2 separate regions of the Homo sapiens genome follow, and region 1 is linked to region 2. Evidence: promoter capture Hi-C in human tissues and cell types (Jung and others, 2019). All regions are on one chromosome and are shown on one strand. Each heading gives the region's core, a stretch centred on a gene start or on the middle of the fragment in contact. The rest is flanking DNA. Distances are from core to core; before and after follow the strand shown. Region 1 overlaps LOC100630923 (LOC100289561-PRKRIP1 readthrough). Region 2 holds the start of SH2B2 (SH2B adaptor protein 2).

Region 1 (4,808 bases), core at 2,100-4,599, 93 kb before region 2:
GCCATCCTCCTGCCCTGGCCTCCCAAAGTGCTGGGATTATAGGCATGAGCCACGGTGCCCAGCCTTTGTCTTAGTTTTTGGTCCCCCTCACCCGACCCCAGAGTTCTAGAACCATTCCCTTGCAAAGAAAGGGACTGCTCACGGCTGGGGATGGAGAAGTGCTGTGGTAGGAGCCCTTTCTTCTCTTTCTTCCCCAGCTGGATCGCCAAACCTACCCTGCGGTCGTCGTCTTCCTGGCCCCATAGCTCCTCCTCACCAAGCATGTCTTCCCCACTGCAGAGAGCTGTGGGAGATACCAAGAGGGCCTTGTCTGCATCTTCTAGTTCCTCTGCCAGTCTACCCTTCGATGACAGGGACTCAAACCATCCCTCAGAGGGTAAGTAGATGTTGCATTGTGCGGCCACTTCCTGTGTCCGTGGCAGCCTTCCCCCTCTCGTTTTCCCACATTGATGATAATATTCGTGGGACTGTGTGAATACACCAGAAGTGCTGTACTCGTTCAGCACAGTGACACCCTCCCTCCAGCTCCAGGTGTTTTTTTTTTGGTGGTCCTAGATGTTGTAGACATCAAAATAGTAGTACATCCTGTTTTTTGTTTGTTTGTTTGTTTGTATGAGATGGAATCTTGCCCTGTCGCCCAGGCTGGAGTGCAGTGGTGTGATCTTGGCTCACTGCAACCTCCGCCTTCCGGGTTCAAGCACATCCTGTTTTTAATCCATCATCCATCGTGTCTAAACCTCTCTTAAACACATTTCTGTGTTCAGCATGTACAACCCCTGGTGGGGGCTGGGAGGTGGCAGATGGGTGAGTAAAGAGTTCTTTACTTGTTGCCTGGTAAATTGTATAAACTTTTTATCTGGTGTCCCCTAGTTCTTCTACTTGGGGATTTTGTAAACAGGTCTGTGTATCCTTATTTATTACCACATATGAGGTTATTTTGTGTAGGTTATAATAATATATCTTGGTTTTTTATCTTTCCAGAAGGAAAAAAGCTAATGTCATACAGATCTGCTTTATCCCCTGGCTGTTTTAATTGGCTTTCTCTGAATCATTTCTGTTTCTGTCAGTGCTGCTGTGGTGTACCCGATTATATCAATGTTACACACTTGAATTGATATGACATGTGGTTGATGTTTCATGGGTGAAATTTAACTCTAGGTCCATATTACTCTCCCATTTATGGATGAGTGATGGATGACTTCCTGGGCCATGATTGTTTTTCTCTACAAAGAGCAGTGATCTCTCTACCCGCTAAGTGAGTAGCATTTGATTCTCTTCTTCGGAGAGAATACTAGGAAGGGTTGTCCTTCCCGTGCCTCATTTCCTCATTCTTCGTCTCCACTGCTTTCATGTGAAAGTTTTCCTTTAAGACTTTGTCCTGGCCGGGTGTGGTGGCTTACGCCTGTAATCCCAACACTTTGGGAGGCCAAGGCAGGTGGATCACCTGAGGTCAGGAGTTTGAGACCAGCCTGGCCAACATGGTGAAACACCTGTAATCCCAGCTACTCGGGAGACTGAGGCAGGAGAATCACTTGAACCTGGGAGGTGGAGGTTGCAGTGAGCCGTGATCACACCATTGCACTCCAGCCTGGGTGACAGGAGTGAAACTCTGTCTCAAAAAAAAAAAAAAGACTTTGTCCCAACTTCCTACTAACAATAAGCTCATTTTTTCTTAAATTCTGAATATGTTTTTCTCATGGAGATGGGATGCAGTGAGAGACAGAGAAACTAATTCATTAGCCTTTTATATGGAGGGAATTAGGGTGGTTATATTTAAAGAGAACGGTACTTTCTCACAGGAATACTGACTCTTTATTAGCTGATGAAGGCAATGACTTTGAAGACAGCTTGAATCACAGTGTGAAGAAGAAAGCAGCAAAACGACCACCAAAAGCAACACCGGTGAGTCAGCCAGTTTTCTTTTGTTTTTGAATCTTGTGGGGGAAGCAGCCCAGCTACTTGGGAGGCTGAGGCAGGACAATAGCATGAACCCAGGGGGCAGAGCTGGCAGTGAGCCGAGATCACGCCACTGAACTCCAGCCTGGGTGATAGAGCGACACTCCGTCTCAAAAAAAAAAAAAAAAAAAAACCTAAAAGAGGTTCAGGTGATATGGTTCATAAAAGGACAAGATTTACAAAGTGTTAAGGGACGGAAATAGGAAGAAGAGAAATTTTGAAGAGAAAAGAAGAGAAAAGGACGTTAGGATATAGGGATACAGGAAGGGGACTCAAGGACTTTTTTTTTTTAAGGGAAAAAAGTTAATAAACTTCATAATATAAAAATCAATTATTTCAGGACTAACTCAGACTCTGCCATGGAAGTGGCAGCATAAGCCTACTTGTGTGATAATGATGAGACCAAGTGTTAATGTCATTGTTACCTTTTTTTCATATTTCTGATCTTTTTATACATATTAGATGGCAAACATCCAGAGAAAGGGTCCCGAGTGGTACATCGTCATAGCCGGAAACAGTCAGAGCCACCAGCCAATGATCTTTTCAATGCTGTGAAAGCTGCCAAAAGTGACATGCAGGTAAAGCAGTGTCTCACCTCTGTTGATACCATCTCACTTTTTGTAAGGTGGTAAGGACAAGTGTCTACAAACTTGATTTGATGTGAACGTTTTAGTGAATGTAACATATCAAGAAAGATAAGATTATGGAGTGAATCCTTGGAGTGATAGAAGGGTAACCTTGAATGAGAGAGCATGTTCCTTTTTTTTTTTTGAGACAGAGTCTCTTTCTGTCACCCAGGCTGGAGTGCAGTGGCACAGTCTCGGCTCACTGCAGCCTCTGCCTCCTGGTTTCAAGCGATTCTCATGCCTCAGCCTCCCAAGTAGCTGGGATTACAGACAAGCACCACCACGCCCAGCTAATTTTTGTATTTTTAGTAGAGATGGGTTTCGCTGGTCTCCAACTCCTGACCTCAGGTGATCTGCCCGCCTCGGCCTCCCAAAGGAGGCTGGGATTACAGGCGTGCACCACTGCACCCAGCTTTGAGAGAGTGTGTTCTTTTCTTAAAGGTATCACAGGAGTGATTATGCCTTTATTGATTGATGGAGCAGATGAGGAGAGGCATTACATGACATGGGAAGGAAGCTTGCATGTGGGTGGCACCTTGTTCACCCATGTTATTTTTTTAGCTCCATCTTGACAATTATACTTTTTCCCCTGTTTCTCTTTTTTATAATTTTATTGAAGTTCTAATATCCAAAAGTGTACAAAGCTTATATGTAGTTTAAAAAATAAAAATGAAATGATTACCCAGATCTCTAGCCCCAGCTCAAGAAGTGAAACATTAATAGTGCTGTAGAGATCCTTTGTGTACCTTCTTTCTACCCTACCTCACAGTCCCCTTATTACCCATAGGTAAACACTAGGGTGAACTTTGTGTTAATCTTTCTCATCTTTCATTATAGTGTTACCACTATGAATGTGTTCTTTAATTATGTAAATGAATCCATTATTCAGGCTTCTGTGATTTAATTATTTCAGTTAAGATTGTTTGAGATTTATCCACATTAACATGTAGTTTTATAGTTTCTGGGAAAATATTTAAAATTTTCAAACATACAGAATTTTGCTAGTTATATTTTCATTATTTGATTTCTAACTTTTTTGTGTTGTATTCAGGGAATGTGGTGTTTGAAATTTATGTAGGGGCTGGGCACAGTGGCTCACACCTTTGATCCCAGCACTTGGGGAGGCTGAGGCAGGCAGATCACTTGAGGCCAGGAGTTTGAGACCAGCCTGGCCAACATGCTGAAACCCTGTCTCTACTAAAAATAAAAAAATTAGCTGCATGTGGTGGCGTTTGTCTGTAATCCCAGCCACTTGGGAGGCTGAGGCGTGAGAATTGCTTGAATCCGGGAGGCAGAGGTTGCAATGAGCTGAGATTGTGCCACGGCACTCCAGCCTGGGTAACAGAGTGAGACTCTGTCTCAAAAAAAAAAAAAAAGAAAGAAATTTATGGAGACTTAGCCTTATGGCCTAGTATTGAGTTGGTACATTCATTTTATCTTTTCTGTTTCTTTTTCCCCCTTTGCTTGATTTCCTTTGGATTTCTTGTCTTCTACAAGGACCTGAGCACATTTTAATTCCAGTTGTCTTTATAGGTTTACTAGGTTTATTGTGAGCCACTCATTTCCCTGGAGTTCTTATGTGCTGGAATCTTTGGGCTAGGTCAAACGTGGTTTTTTTTTTTTTTGAGACGGAGTCTCGCTCTGTCGCCCAGACTGGAGTGCAGTGGTGCGATCTCTGCTCACTGCAAGTCCGCCCCCCAGGTTCATGCCATTCTCCTGCCTCAGCCTCCCAAGTAGCTAGGACTACAGGTGCCCGCCACCACACTCAGCTAATTTTTTTGTATTTTTAGTAGAGATGGGGTTTCACTGTGTTCACCAGGATGGTCTTGATCTCCTGACCTCGTGATCTGCCCGCCTCGGCCTCCCAAAGTGCTGGGATTACAGGTATGAGCCACCACGCCCGGCCATGTTAGGTTCTTTTTTTAACCACAATTTAAAATTAAATGAAGGGGGCTGGGTGCAGTGCTCACGCCTGTAATCCCAGCACTTTGGGAAGCTGAGGCAGGCAGCTCACAAGGCCAGGAGCCCAACAGAGTGAACTCCTGGCCAACAGACTGAATCCCCGTCTCTACTAAAAATACAAAAATAGGCCGGGCATGATGGTGCACACCTGTAATCCCAGCTACTCGGGCGGCTGAGGCACAAGAATCACTTGAACCTGGGAGGCAGAGGTTATCATGAGCCAAGATTGCGCCAGTGCGCTCCAGCCTCAGTGACAGAGTGAGA
Region 2 (4,518 bases), core at 206-2,705:
GCCACCACCAGACCTCTCCCAAAGCTCCTGGAGCTGAAAAGTTCTAGGTCACTCTCCCAACCTCTTCCTGCGTGGAGTGGGGAGGCCAGGAGGGAAGAGGTTGGGAGAGTTCAAGGTGGGACACAGTAGTGGGGGCTTCAGCTCAAGAGGCAGTCAAAACCTCTTGGGGAAACCACACCCCCTGCCCCCAGTCCTCCCAGAGGAGCTCCAGGGACCTGACTCTGGGACGCAATTCCTGCCGGGAGTTGCCGGTCCCTTAGCCAGGAGGCAGGCAGCACCATCCCATTTTACAGGGTAGGTGATGTTGGCTCGGGGGCATTGGTAGGGCTCCACCCAGGTCTGACAGCCTAGCCTGAGGCTCTCCCTTGCACTAGCTCGAAGTGCACGTAGATCCTGGCTTATTCGTGTTCAGAGTCTCGCCTGGGGCTGCCCGGTCTGCCTTGCGTGGCTCCTGAGAGGCTCCAGTCACTGCAGACTTCCCTCCCTGAAGGCCCCCACTTCGGGGCTGCAGGGGGCCAGGATGCGTCCCTGCCTCTGCCCGGCTTCAGCCCGCTGGGCTGGCGCGGTTCCGGCCCGCGCAGCCCGCAGGTTCATCAATGGCCGAGGCCCAAGGGCCTGAATGGAGGGCACGAACCCGCCCCTTCTTAAAGGCGCCGGCCTCTTGGGCACCCTCCACGATCCTCCCGGCAATCGGGGGCTCCGGGGAGCTCCCCGGCTGGGCAGGTCGAGAAAGGGGGGCCTGGGCCAAAGGGAGGGCGTGCCTGTGGCCTGGAGGAGGTCCTCCCCGATCCCATCCCGTGGCCCTCACCCTCATTCTAGGTTGACGCCCCCTCCCAGCGCTCCCAGCGTAGGGAAGAGACCTGGGCACCCCTTCCCCCAACCAGAGACCCCTCCTCTAAGGACCCGGCTGCTCTCGCCCCACTACCCGGCCGGGGCCCTAGCAGGGGGCGGGGGCGCAGCTGCTCCAGAGGCGGCTCGGCCCCTCCAGCGGCTCCCCGCCCCGCCCGGGATGGGGATCGGGGAGCAGATCCCAGCCGGGGGCGCCTCCCCTCCCTCGCGCGCCCTCCTCCCTCCCACCCGCGCACACAAAGACGACACGCGCGGACCAAGGCGCGTGCGGCCGCTCTCCTTCGGGCAGCGGTGCGCACACAGCGCACGTCCCCGGGGACAGACAGGGGTCCCGGGGGAAGGACCAGGGAGCGAGGAACTGGGTATAAGGAGGCCATACCTACAGGCGCGCAGCTGCGGCCGAGCGGGCTGGGGCGCCGGCTGAGCGCTGCCCGGACCGCGGCCGGGCTCCCCGGGCCCGGTGGCTCATGGCCCGCGGCGGACTGGGCTCCCTCCCTCGTTCACCGCCTCGAAGGCTCCTGCGCTCCTCGCGGTCCCGGCGCGTCCCCCGCGCGGCTCTCTGGCAGCCGAGCTCCGCGCGCTCCAAGCCCAGCCCCAGCGCGGCGCGCCCCTCCGCCCGCGAGGCGCGCGCCTCCCGGCCCCGCCCCGCCCCCGCCCCCGCCGCGAGCCCCGGCCCCGCCCCCCCTCGCGCGTCCTGGCCCCGCCCCCTCCCGCCCCCACTTGCGCCGCTCAGGCCCCGCCCCCGGCCATCCGCGGAGCCCGAGCGGCGCCGGTGGCCGGTGCTTGCTGGCTCCCCGCAGCTGCGGTGCCGAGACTGCCCGGTCCTGGGGCCCGGAGAGAGGGGTTAGGAGCCGGCTCCGAGTCGCCCCATCTGGGCGGGGGTCCCCATGTCGCCGAGCCGGCCCCAGGCCAGGCGCGGGACTCCCACTCCTCCTCGTGGAGGCCACCCCTCGAGCCCGCGGTGGTGGTGGCCCCGGGAGCGCGGAGCGTGGGGCCGGGGGAATGTCCTGCGTGGCGGGTGTATGGGACGCGGACGCCCTCGAAGCGCCCCTCGCTGACGGGTGCTTCGCGGGAGCCGCCGCTGTGGCCAGACTCTCCGCAGCAGGGACAATGGGAGCCTGGAGGAGGCCTGGATGTCGCAACGGAGGAAGTCGACGCCTGGTTCTCATAAATCTCGAGGGCGCCACCACGCCCCCTCCCTGCAGCCCTCCGGTGCGGGAAATCGCCCCCGGGCCACAGGGCGGGACGGCCCCCCTGAGCGCAGTGCCCCCACCACCCAGCCTTCGCTGTGATGGGGGCCTGATGCCACCCGGAGAGGTGTCAGAGATCATAGAGGGGCGATGAGGGGCCACAACCCTGGCACCTTCCTCACCCCTGCCTGGCTCCAGAACTCGCCTGCTTTAGGGCAGAGACCAGTGGGGCTGAGGAAACAGTCCCGCTGGGCTTTGCGGGGCATTTGTAGCCTGACCCCTGGTGCTGAGGGCACAGCGCGGGGGCTCTGGGAGGCTTCCTGAAAGAGGTGCAGGGGGCTCAGCAGGCCTGGAAGGGGTCTGAGAGGGGAGGGAGGGCTTCGGTGGGGGCAGAGGTGTGGAAAGGGCCGCTCAGAGAAGAGAGTAGTCTTGCTCCTGGAGATAGCAGGGGGGGACCCCTGGGTGTCTTCTCCCCTCATCTCCCTCCTTGTCCCCTGCCCCCACCTCTGGCAGTTCTGTCCTGGTCTCCTTGCCAGCCGGAGCTGCCTCCATCTGTCGCCCTCCCGGGCCCAAACTGACCTCTGACTTTTCCCAGAGCCATTTCCCATCTCTAATTTACAGACAAGGGTTTTTATCAAACCCTTCTTAGGGATGGAAAGGTGGGGCTTCCAGAGTTGAAGGTGGAGGGGACAGAGCCTTCACCTGCTGCCCAAAACCCCGGTGCTGCCCTCCACGGGGGCACGGAAGACAGGCAGACCCCTTCCCTGCCCCACATCTCGGCTCTGTTCCCTCCGCAGGACCAGGCCAGCAGACACTTTAATGAAAGCTTCGGCAGTGGGCCAGCCCTCGATCGGAGCTGCACACAGGCCTGCACGCCTGGTTGGGAACCAGGACACCTATGAATGAGGCCGGGAAGGGGGAGGAGGGGGTGCCCGAGAGTGGGAGAAAGGGAAGCTCCATACATGGCCTGGTTGTGGTCTCCACCCTCCTGGGAGAGGGGAGAGCCTGACCCGCGGTGGACTAACCTGGTTCAGAGTAGTGGGCTGAACTCCACTGCTGGGATGATAGCGGCCAGAGAGGGTCCTGAGATGGGAAGCCATGGGCAGGACAATAGCTTGGATCCATCCCCAGGGAGGAAGAAGTGAGGAGGGGCCGGCGGCAGAGCGCCTCGGACCCACAAGGAGGAACTGATGGAGATGTGGAAGTGGCTGTGGGGGTGGAGGGGGCGTGGTTGGCCAAGAGCAGCTGTCGCCTCGCTGGGGATAGGAATGAAGGTCAGGGAGGAAAGGTCCATCCTGGGTCCCTGAGGGCAGGAGGCTTGAGGGGCTTGGAAGAAGTCCTCATGGGGGAGATGAGGGGTGCTGGGACGGGGACCCCAAAGAAAGGCCCCTGGATACACATGCTTTAGACTGTTCAGAACTAAAATGGAGACAGAGGTAGCACAGGGGACCCTGGCCTGGTGGGCTGCAGTGGGGGACCTGGGTTTGCAGCCAGTCTTGTGACAGCTGGACAATGAGTTAATGCACCCACTCCAGACCCAGAGAATGCGCTCCTCTATCTGAGGCTGGGCTGGAGGTGAGGTGGCCCAGAACCTGTGTCTCGGGGGGTTCCCATGCGAGGCTGGTGCTCAGGGAGATTGATGGGCACGGGCTTTGCAGCCCCTGGCAGGCGGGGGCCCATGGGAAAGGGGAGCACAGAAAGGGAAGCAGAGATTCCCCAGGAACTGACGTGGACCAAGACACGTCATACACCCAACCACAGCCCGACAGGTGGTTTTTTTTTTTTTTTTGAGATGGAGTCTCACTCTGTTTCCCAGGCTGGAGTGCACTGGCACGATCTCAGCTCACTGCAACCTCCGCCTCCCGGGTTCAAACGATTCTCCTGCCTCACCCTCCTGAGTGGCTGGGATTACAGGCATGCGCCACCATGCCCAGCTAATTTTTGTATTTTTGGTAGAGACGGGGTTTCACCACGTTGGCCAGGCTGGTCACGAACTCCTGACCTCAAGTGATCCACCTGCCTCGGCCTCCCAAAGCGCTGGGATTACAGGTGTGACCCACCGCGCCTGGCCCCGGGTGGTTTTTGAATAAAGGAATGGGTTTCCCTTTTTGATGGTGCTACTTGTCCTCTCAAAAGCACTCGGACACTGGATCTGGGTTTCAGCAGAGCTCTGAATGTACTCATGGAATTCCTGGAGATGAGAAGAGGGGGAGGAATGTTCTGTGTGCCCAGCTGTGAGGCCAGCCCCAGCTCCCAGGGGTGGCACCGCAGGCATCCCCACCAGCCTCCAGTCCCTCCAGCGTCCCAGAGCACAGGGCACCAGGGTGGCTGCAACCGTGGTTTATTTCAAATGTGCAAAGCTAAATATGCAACTACAAATCTAACTCAGGAAGGCCTGCCAGTGGCCCTGAGAGGTGGCCGTGCTAGGGTGGTCCACAGCCAGTTCTGATTGGCTAGGAGACGTTCAGACCCCTCATAC

The links. Contacts are between HindIII fragments. The study calls those that stand out against the background at their distance.
Region 1: a fragment that was not itself captured here is called in contact with the fragment with the promoter of SH2B2 in region 2 in 7 of the 25 tissues and cell types used here (H1 embryonic stem cells, IMR-90 fibroblasts, aorta and 4 more).

What each region holds. Positions count from the first base shown.
Region 1 is chr7:102,378,191-102,382,998 of GRCh38, reverse strand. All of the region lies in intron 4 of LOC100630923 (LOC100289561-PRKRIP1 readthrough), which reads right to left. It also overlaps the pseudogene LOC100289561. Among named protein-coding and RNA genes, the nearest start is that of PRKRIP1, 16 kb to the left of the region's middle. The HindIII fragment of the contact is 5,110 bases long and covers 795-4,808 here.
Region 2 is chr7:102,283,805-102,288,322 of GRCh38, reverse strand. SH2B2 (SH2B adaptor protein 2) reads right to left here and starts at 1,455. Exons shown (of 9, transcript NM_001359228.2): 1 at 1,229-1,455. It also overlaps a transcript of CUX1 not described here. RefSeq lists silencers at 948-1,487, 1,558-2,137, 3,915-4,099. The HindIII fragment of the contact is 12,688 bases long and covers 803-4,518 here.